2 separate regions of the Homo sapiens genome follow, and region 2 is linked to region 1. Evidence: promoter capture Hi-C in human tissues and cell types (Jung and others, 2019). All regions are on one chromosome and are shown on one strand. Each heading gives the region's core, a stretch centred on a gene start or on the middle of the fragment in contact. The rest is flanking DNA. Distances are from core to core; before and after follow the strand shown.

What was found. Contacts are between HindIII fragments. The study calls those that stand out against the background at their distance.
Region 2: a contact is called between a fragment that was not itself captured here and the fragment with the promoter of SIM2 in region 1, in 3 of the 25 tissues and cell types used here (H1 embryonic stem cells, aorta and stomach).

The regions. Positions count from the first base shown.
Region 1 is chr21:36,696,637-36,701,651 of GRCh38, reverse strand. It overlaps SIM2 (SIM bHLH transcription factor 2), which reads right to left and starts at 2,537. Exons shown (of 11, transcript NM_005069.6): 1 at 1,731-2,537. The coding sequence starts at 1,905. It overlaps LOC105369308 (a long non-coding RNA gene), which reads left to right and starts at 2,661. Exons shown (of 3, transcript NR_188246.1): 1 at 2,661-2,743. LOC107985492 (a long non-coding RNA gene) reads right to left here and starts at 1,136. Exons shown (of 4, transcript XR_001755029.1): 1 at 1-1,136. RefSeq lists enhancers at 124-716, 717-1,310. The HindIII fragment of the contact is 19,577 bases long and covers 1-5,015 here.
Region 2 is chr21:36,954,530-36,959,544 of GRCh38, reverse strand. The region is part of intron 2 of HLCS (holocarboxylase synthetase); the gene reads left to right. Among named protein-coding and RNA genes, the nearest start is that of HLCS-AS1, 9.4 kb to the left of the region's middle. The HindIII fragment of the contact is 4,964 bases long and covers 1-4,887 here.

The DNA.
Region 1 (5,015 bases), core at 1,288-3,787:
TGGGGTATCTTTGCCACGTTCCGAGTAGGAAAGGGAGGAACCTGCCCTGGGCTGAAGGACCGCTGCGCCCGAGAGGAGAGCGCCCCGCGGCCGCGCGGTAGGGCCGGGTGGCACAGGAGAGGCCTAGGGTCCGCTTCCAGCCCCCTCCGCTGCCGGGTGCTCCCGGGTCAGCCCGCGCCTGGCTCCTGGGCCGGGGAGCCGCGGGGCTGGAGGCCGCGCTTGCAGACCAGCCCTCTGCGCTCCACCGGGGAGGGGCCGAGAAGCGCAGCTCCAGACCCAGCGGCCAGCACAAATAACAGGCTTGGCAGAGGCGAACGCAAAAGGTCGAGCTTTCCGATTTCGAGTAGAGTGCCTGGTGGGGATGGCGCTATGGAAGCGCCCTGCGGCCTAGGGACACCTGTCGCCTGCTCTGCCCCGACCGTCCGGCGCCCTGCGGCGGAAGTTGTCTCCCTACCTCGGCACTGGCTCCCGGGGCTCCAGAGGCCGGCGCAGCCCTCCCAGCTCCTGGGCCCAGAGGACCCACCAGAACCCTGAGCAGCGCGCCTCCCAGCAAAGAGTCAAATCCTTCGGGCCAGGCCGCAGCGACCCCGCTGGGAGCAGAGGCTCTGGAAGACGCGGCCCGGAACGCTTGGGACGCCAAAAACGCTCAGACCTGCTGCTCGGAGGTGCCTGGCCGGGCAGCCACTGTCACCAGCGGCAACCGGCGTGGGCGGCGGGGCAGCCCACCCAGCGCGCCACTATTTCTTCCTGTTCCGAGTCTTCCGCACCGCGGGTCCCAGCGCCCCTGGCCCACTGGCACATTTTCAATCCTGAAAAGAACGGCAGCGCTCAGCTCTGTCTGCCATTTTCGAATTAATCGGACCCCTCTCTTTCAGCCGGGTCTCAGCTCAGCAACGGCGGGGGCGGGTCTCTCCTGCCCGGACTTCCCGCACCCCAGCCTCACGAGAGGGCCCGGCTCAGCACAAGTGTTCGCTCTGTGGCCTCAGCCTGCAGTGCTTGGGCCTCACCGTGATCCCCGCTGACTCGCAGCGCCTGAAGCTGACCCTCCTTCACCTCCTCCAGAAGAGACAAAAAGAGGGAGGAATGAAGGAAAAATAAAGGGAATCGTAGAAAGAAAAGGAGGAAGGGAAGGAGGGATAAAGAAAGGAAGGGATGGGGAAAGAAAGAAAGCAAAACCAGAGTGAACTTCCAAAGAAAGGAAGGAAAGCAGAAAAGGAAAGAAAACAAACCAATGCATTGGCAAAGGAAGGAAGGAAGGAGGGAGGGAGAGAGGGGGCCAAGGAAGGAAGGAAGGGGAGAATGAAAGAAAGAGGAAGAAAGAAAGAAAAAGAAAGAGAAAGAAAGAAAGAAAGGAAAGAAAGAGAGAAAAAAATCCAAACCAAACCAGAATGCACTGGCGAAGGAAGGAAGGAGGAAAGGGAGAAAGAACAAAACCAGAAAGAACTCGCTGGCCGTGCGGGCTGGGGGACTGCCTGCCCCTGGAACAATTCGTAATTCGCCCTCACCCAGCCCTGGACCAGGAGAGGGTTTGGTCGCCTGGGCCGCCAAGGCCCTGGCCCCTCGCCCCAAGCCAGCGCCGAAGCCGAAGACCCTCACGCAACCTCCCTCAGACGCCCCAGCTCTGGACGCCAGGCCGCGGCAACCCCTCTGGGCGGGCTGGCTTGCGCTTCCCGCCTGGGCCGGGGCCGCCGGGCTCCCCAGCGTCCCCGGCCGCCCACCTGAGGCCTCACCTTCGGGGAAGACGGCGCGCATCTTCAGGTAGCTCGTGGTGAGGCGGATGATGGACGCTTTGTCCAGCTGCGAAGTGATGGCCGACGGCAGCGGGAGCAGCTTGGCAAGCTCGTAAAACTCGCCATTTTCCTTCTCCCTCCTGGTCTTGGCCGCATTCTTGGACTTCTCCTTCATCGCGCCTCGGCTCCGGGCATATTAGACCCGGCCGTGCTCCAGGCCCGCGGAGCCCCGCTCGGGCTGCGGCGGCGGGGATGGGGAAGGGGGAGCCGGGAGCCAGGTGAGTCCGCGGAGTGGGCCGCGGGCAGGTGCGGGGGGCCTCCCGGGGTTCCGAGACGCCTCCCCGCAGCCGCCGGGCCTGAGCTCCGAGCAACCCGGCGGCGCCGCCCGCCGCTGCCCGGAGCGCAGCCTCCTCCGGGCTGGACCGTCCTGCAGCAACCGGAGCCCCGTTCCTGCTCGCTCCTGTTTCCTCCCTCCTGCCTCTCCTGCCTCGGCCTTCCTGGGGGGTGGGGGCGGCCGGCGCGGAGGCGGAGGCGCTGCTTACTCCTTCGTCGAGTGCTCGAACCGGCTGCGGCAAGGCCCCTCCGGACCGGAGGGCGACAGGGGCGGCGGTGGCCGCGGAGCCATGGAGCGGGAGCCCAGCGGAGGGGAGCGAGTCGCAGGCGGCTGGGGCCGGGCCCTGGCCCGGGCGCGCTCTCCTGCCCTTCCTGGCGGCTCCCTGTGCCTGGAGACGCAGCGCCGGAGCCCGCGATGTGTGGCTAGGCGCAGCACCTCCGCTGTCCACGTGCGGCCGAGCCGCGTTTGTTTATGGCAGACCCGCCTTCGGGCGGAGCACTGGCCGCCTGGGTCCCGGAGGGGGGAGCGGGAGGGGGGAGGGACCGCGGCGGGGGCGGGGGCGGCGAATCTTGCCTCCGACCCCGCCGCGGCCCTGGAGTCACAGGCGCGCCTCCGCGTCGCTGCCTCCAGGGACTCTCCCGGGAGAGACCCGCGCGCTCCCGGGTTCGGGGAAGTCGCGGTGAGTGCACACGGCGCGCCGCGGGGACCCGCTCCTGAGCGCCGGTCGCCGGACCCCGGAGCTAGGATGGGCGGCAGGGAGGGCGAGGGAAGGAGGGGTGCCGAGGCCGCCCCTGTGGCTCTCGGGAAGGTCACCAGCAGGCGCGGCCGAGAGGAGGCGGCGCGACTCGTTGGCCAGGCGCCCTGCCGGGGAGGATCGAGCCTTCCGAGGGTGCGCTGGTCCCGCGTCCTCGCCCTCCCGGTGTTGCAGGTCCAAGAGCTGAAAAGGGGAAAGCCGGGAGCCCCCCTCCCCCCATTACACACACACGTGAAAACGGCGCGAGTGGCTCCGAAGTGACCCTTCTGCCCTTTCTGTCCTCGAAACACTAAGGTGCAAAGAGATTGTCGCCTTCTCAGGAGGAGCGGGAGGCCGCAGGGGCGCTCAGGCCAGGGGAAGGGAGGGGCCAGGGAGCCCAGCCGAGTGGTGAGGCCTCTCCCAGGGCGCCGGCGGAAACAGGGCCCAACTGCCGGGGCGGCGGCAAAAGCAGCCCGATTCAGCGCAGCCGGAATTTTGAGGAATCGGCGTTGGGCGATTAAGGGCCAAGGTCGCTGAGCCAGGGTCACAGGGTGGGCGCAGGTGGCGCAGGTGGGGCCCATGGTGATGGGGCAGAAGGCAATTGGAGAAAGAAGACTCCGTTGCAGACGCGGCCACTGGGCATTCTGGACTCTCCTTCAGGGTCATTTTGGACCTAAAGAGTCCTTTTGTCCCCCCTCTGCCCTCCCCTGTCCGGCTCCCGCAGCCTGGAAATGGGTGTGCGGCCCAGGAGTCCTCCGCGCACCCCTGCAGCGGCGGTCACATAACCCCACCTCTTCCAGGAGTGCAGCTTTCCCGGCCCCCCAGGCCAGAGACAGGCTCAGAGGACGCAGGGCAATTCCTTACCTTGGCGTCGAGATCATGTGGGGACTCTCGGCCGTGTGCCACAGGCTGCAGAGCCGTGGAGCAGTGGGGTGCGTGACCTGGAGGTCAGCAGGGGCCGGGAGGACACCGGGCCGCGGATGGGGGCGCGGAGATTTGGGTTCTCGGTGTCACTGCTCTCGCCACTGGCCCGGGATCATGAGCCTGCTGCTCCGAAAACTCGCCGTCGGACAGCGACTGAGTATCCGCTTCCCTCCCCTGGCCCTCCCCTGCGCCAGGAAGGCCTGGCCTTCGGCAACCGTGCCTGCAGCAGGCGCTCCTGACCTTTTCCAGGGACTCCTTTGAAGGTCAAAAGTTCGAAGGCGTTCGAAGCCGAGCAGGCTCCCTCCAGGGGCTGGAAGGTGTGCGCAAACCCGGGCTCTCCCCCTGCCTGTCCCTAGCCCCTTGCGGAGTCCACATCGTGGCCAGGGCTCGCAGGCTTGGTGCTCCGAAACCGCGACGCCACGCGAGCCGGACGCACAGAGTAACAGCGCTTTCCTTTGGGGTTTCGGATCCAGGAGCGCTTTCCTGTTGCAGCGGCTTGAGCAGAGGGCCATGGGCTAGCGGCGCGGGTCTCCAATGCCCAAGCCTGGCGAGTCGGACCCACCTCCGCGCCCAGGATCCCGCTCCTGGCTGCGCTGACAGCTGCCGGCTCCGGGCCTCTGGGAGAAGGAGCTCCAAGGGGTTAGAGGCTACGGACCCAGCCCCTGCCGCAGCTTCCGCAGGCGGCCCCCTGAGCCCGCTCTGGCACCTCCTGGGCTTCGGGAGGATTTAATGCGTTTCTCACCCCCACGGCTTCCGACCCTCAATTATGGACCCGGGAGAATTCCTCCTGGGCTTGAAAGGGATTACCCAGATCGCAGAAACATGGCTAAGTGGAAGTGGGAGAAACCCGACAAGTAACAAGAACGGAAACTTTCCTCAAGGCAAATTTCCCGGATTTTACGGGAAAGCGCACTTATCTTCCCAGGGACAGCCTCTGTTCACGTGTCCGCGAGGCAGGTTCGAAGCGCGCTACGGGAGGCAGAGCAATGCCGTGTTTGAAGACTGGAAGATACGTGGGTGTGAGATACCTCCAGGCCCAACGCCTGCCCAGCAGCTGCCCAAGCAGACGTTGTGTACTCGGCTCCCCCAAGCACATCCTTTCGCCGTACACGCGCGCGCGCGCACACACACACACACATCCACACACACACGCAGCTGTGGCTCTGGGGTCCCTGATGGCACCACGCAAAGTACCAGAAGTACACGGGCACCGCACCTCGAGGTTTCCCAGGTAGGAAGGACAGGGATGCCTCTGTGGAATTGTGAAGGAAGAAACCCAACCCTTGGTGGGGGC
Region 2 (5,015 bases), core at 1,156-3,655, 260 kb before region 1:
CCCCAGGTTTTGGGCTGGTCTTGGCTTGAAGGCAGGGCGTCACCAGGGACCCGCCCCTTTCTACCTATGAGCCTGTCTGCCTTCTGCTGTCAGTCATGTTGTCCAAGGTGCCCAGGCTGTTTGTGCTGAGGGGTGCCTACAGGCCTGCAACCAGCCGTCCTCAGCCCCTCCTCGGCCTCCCTCCCATCCTCGTGGTCCAGAGTGGCTCCTAAAGTCTAGAGGGGGGCTGAGGTGGCAGGGGGCTGGTGTGTCAGCGCCATCCTGAGCAGCACCCACCTGGCCGGGTTGCGACACCGCCCAGGCTCAGCTTCAATTTTGCTCCAGAATCAGAGCGGGCACAGGGAGCAGGAAGAGGCCAGGCAGCGGGATCAGGCACTTCCAAGCCTGTGGGGAAGCGGGGGCCTCTGGGACCCCTGAGAGTGCAGGGATGCCCAGGTCCGCAGCTGTGGCTGGGAGGCTGCAGTTATGCCTGGGAGCACTGGGCTCCTGCCCTGCCAACTCAGAAGCGGGAAGGGCTCCTGCCTGCTCCCAGCTCCCCCTGGTTCCACAGAGCGCGTATCCCTGGCCGCGCCTACCCTGCTCCAGACTGGCTGCAGCTGTCATCACTAATACTTAACGGCTCTACAAAGTATTATCATTATTATTATTGCCATTTTGAAGATAAGAAAACTTAGGTTATAAGATTAAATGACATTCCTAAAGTGATAGGAATATCATTGCTAAGTGACAGACAAAGTTTTCTTTCTTTTTTTTTTGGAGATGGAGTCTTGCTGTGTTGCCCAGGCTGGAGTGCAGTGGTGCGATCTCAGCTCACTGCAACCTCCACCTCCCGGGTTCAAGCAATTCTCCTGCCTCACCCTCCCAAGTAGCTGGGACTACAGGCGCACGCTGCCACGCCCAGCTAATTGTTTGTATTTTAGCAGAGACCGGGTTTCACCGTGTTGCCCAGGCTGGTCTCGAACTCCTGAGCTCAGGCAATCTGCCTGCCTCAGGCTCCCAAAGTGCTAGGATTACAGGCGTGAGCCACTGTTCCCGGCCTAGACAAGGTTTTAACCAGCTGCTAAGTGAGAGATAAGATTTTAACCAATGCTTCTATCCTTTCTAGTAACTAGAGAACGAATTAATGGTTTTAAAGAGATCTAGATCATTGAGATTCCAAAATAAAGCTTTTATTAACCTAGGTCCAGTCAAACAGTACTTGTGTCTCTTATGTTTGGTAGAAGACGACCAGCTGTTGATACGACGGTTTTGGTGAACTCAGGGCTAATTTTCTTTCTTTCTTTCTTTCTTTTTTTTTTTTTTTTGAGACAGTCTCACTCTGTCGCCCAGGCTGGAGTGCAGTGGCGCGATCTCGGCTCACTGCAAGCTCCGCCTCCCAGGTTGACGCCATCCTCCTGCCTCAGCCACCCGAGTAGCTGGGACTACAGGCACATGCTGCCACATCCGGCTAATTTATTTATTTATTTATTTATTGTATTTTTAGTAGAGACGGTGTTTCACCATGTTAGCCAGGATGGTTTCGATCTCCTGACCTTGGGATCCACCTGCCTCGGCCTCCCAAAGTGCTGGGATTACAGGCGTGAGCCACCGCGCCCGGCCTCTTTTTTTTTTTTTTCGAGACGCAGTCTTGCTCAGTTGCCCAGGCCGAAGTGCAGTGGCGCGATCTCGGCTCACTGCAAGCTCTGCCTCCCGGGTTCATGCCATTCTCCTTCCTCAGCCTCCCGAGTAGCTGGGACTGCAGGCGCGTGCCACAACGCCCAGGTAATTTTTTGTATTTTTAGTGGAGACGGGGTTTCACCATGTTAGTCGGGATGATTTCCTGACCTCGTGATCCGCCTGCCTCTGCCTCCCAAAATGCTGGGATTACAGGCATGAGCCACTGCGCCCAGCCAATTCAGGGCTAATTTTCATATGCAGAAAAGACGATTCATAAACTTTATTTTTATTTTAAAAATGATTTTGAATTTATTGAAAATATAAATTAAATAATCAAGTAGGTCAAATCACATGAAATTGCTAATATCTGGCTTTTCTTTTTGAACTACAAAGAGGCCTTGTCATATGGTAACTGTATTAGGCAGTTCTTGCATTGCTATAAAGAAATACCTGGAGCTGGATAATTTATAAAGAAGAGGTTCTGCGAGCCATACAGGAAGAGTGGTGCCAGCATGTGCTTCTGGTGAGGGCCTTGAGGAACAGTCATGGCAGAAAGTGACAGAGGTGCAGGTGTGTCACATGGCAAGAATGAGAGTGAGACTGAGCTGGGGGAGGTGCCACACATTTTTAAACAACCAGGTCTTGTGAGAACTCACTCACTATAGGGAGGACAGCACCACACTATTCATGAGGGATCTGTTCCCATTACCCAAACACTTCCCCCACAGGCCCCACCTCAACCACTGGGGATTACATTTCAACGTGAGATTTGGAGGGGACAAACTTCCAGATTCTATCAGTAACCAATTCCTTGGGCTTTTTTTTTTTTTTTTTTTGAGACGGAGTCTGGCTCTGTTGTCCAGGCTGGACTGCAGTGGTGCAATCTTGGCTCACTGCAACATCTACCTCCTGGGTTCAAGCGATTCTTCTGCCTCAGCCTCCCAAGTAGCTGGAATTACAGGCACCTGCCACCATACCCGGCTAATTTTTTGTATTTTTAGTAGAGACGGGGTTTTACCATGTTGGCCAGGGTGGGTCTTGAACTCCTGACCTCAGGTGATCTGCCCGCCTCAGCCTCCCGAAGTGCTGTGATACAGCCATGAGCCACCATTCTGGCTCCTTGGACTTTTATTTATTTTTTATTTATTTATTTATTTTTGAGACGGAGTCTCGCTCTGTTGCCTAGGCTAGAGTGCAGTGGCACGATCTCGGCTCACTGCCAACCCTGCCTCCCGGGTTCATGCCATTCTCCTGCCTCAGCCTCCCGAGTAGCTGGGACTACAGGCGCCCACCACCACACCCGGCTAATTTTTTTTGTATGTTTAGTAGAGATGGGGTTTCACCGTGTTAGCCAGAATGGTCTTGATCTCCTGACCTTGTGATTTGCCCACCTCGGCCTCCCAAAGTGCTGGGATTACAAGTGTGAGCCACCACACCTGGCCTACAAACTCAAATATCTTAAAATATTTCATTTCATTTTAGGACTCTAGGTACACAGAATTGGGTTAACCATACTCCTTGTTCCAAATGTACTCTCATCGTTGGTTTATGCATGGATCTCATTCACCTGTGGATTTGAAATAATACAATAAATACCCATGAACTCACCGCTAGAACTACACGTGCCTCCCCACCCCCTGAGTCCATCTACTTGCTCCTGCTCCTTCCTCATGACTCCCCCTACCCCTCCTCCCAGTTTCTTTTTAGATTTTTAAGTTGTCTGGATTAACAGACACCACGTTTTTGAACACTTACATAATTCGTATACATTATAGTTAATGTGTTGCTTCACGACAGATACACATTGTGAGAAATGCGTCCTTAGGTGATTTCATCATGCAAACATCATAGAGTGTACTTATACAAGTCTAGATGCTGTAGCCTACTTTACACCTGGGATTTATGGGGTAGCCTATTGCTCCTAGGCTATAAACCTGTACAGCATGTTACTGCATTGGATACTGTAGGCAGCTGTAACACAGTGGTAAGTATTTGTGTATCTAAACATAGAAAAGGCACAGTAAAGATACAGTATAAAAGATAAAAAACAGTACACCTGTCTAGGGCACTTGCTATGAATGGAGCTTACAGGACTGAAAGTGGCTCAGGGCGAGTCAGTGAGTGAGTGGCGTGTGAATGTGAAAGCCTAGGACACAACAGTCACTACTTTAGACTTTATAAACACTGTACACTTAGGCTACACTGAATTTATAACAGCCTTCTTCTTCGATAATAAATTAATCTTAGCTTACTATCATATTTTTACTTTATAAACTTGATTTTTTAAAATTTTTGATTCTTTCGTAATAACAGCTTAAAACAAACACATTGTACAGCTGTAAAAAATATTTTCTTTCTATCCTTATTCTAAAAGCTTTTTTCTAAGATTTTATATATTTAAAAAAAAATTTTGTTTTTAAAATTTTATTCTTATTTTCATTTATTTATCTCTACAAATTTGTGAACATACAAATTGCTATGTTTCCTAGACTGATCTCCAACTCCTGGCTTCAAGCAGTCCTCTCACCTCAGCCCTCACCAAGCACTGGAATTATAGTTGTGAGCCACCATGTCCAGCCTGTTTCTTACTTTTTAAACTTTTTTTGCTAAAAACTAACGTAGAAACACACACATTAGTCTAGGCTGCCCAGGGTCAGGATCATCAGTATCACTGACTTTCACTGCACATGTGTCCTCCTGGAAGGTCTTCACGGGCAGTAACGTGCATGGAGCAGTGAACTCCTGTGATAACAATGCCTTCCCCCACAGTAGCTCCTGAAGGACCTGCCTCAGGCTGTTACAGTTAACTGTTTTGTTGGGTTTTTTTTGAGACAGAATCTCACTCTGCTGCCCAGGCTAGAGTTCAATGGCACTATCTTGGCTCATTGCAACCTCCGGCCCCAGGTTCCAGCAATTCTCCTGCCTCAGCCTCCCAAGTAGCTGGGATTACAGGTGCCTGCCACCACACCTGGCTAATTTTTATATTTTTAGCAGAGATGAGGTTTCACATGGTGGCCAGACTGGTCTCAAACCCTTGACCTCAAGTGATCCCCCCGCCTCGGCCTCCCAAAGTGCTGGGATTACAGGCATGAGGCACCACACCCAGCTGTTTTTTTTGTTTTGTTTTGTTTTGTTTTGTTTTTTTAATAAGTAGAAGGAGTACACTCTAAAATAATAGAAAACATAGAAAACACATAAACCAGTAACAGTTGTTTATTATCAGGTACTGTGTACTGTATGTAATTGTCTGTGCTATACTTTTTTTTCTTTTTTTGAGACTGAGTCTTGCTCTGTCGCCCAGGCTGGAGTGCAGTGGCGCATCTCGGCTCGCTGCAAGCTCCACCTCCCAGGTTCACGCC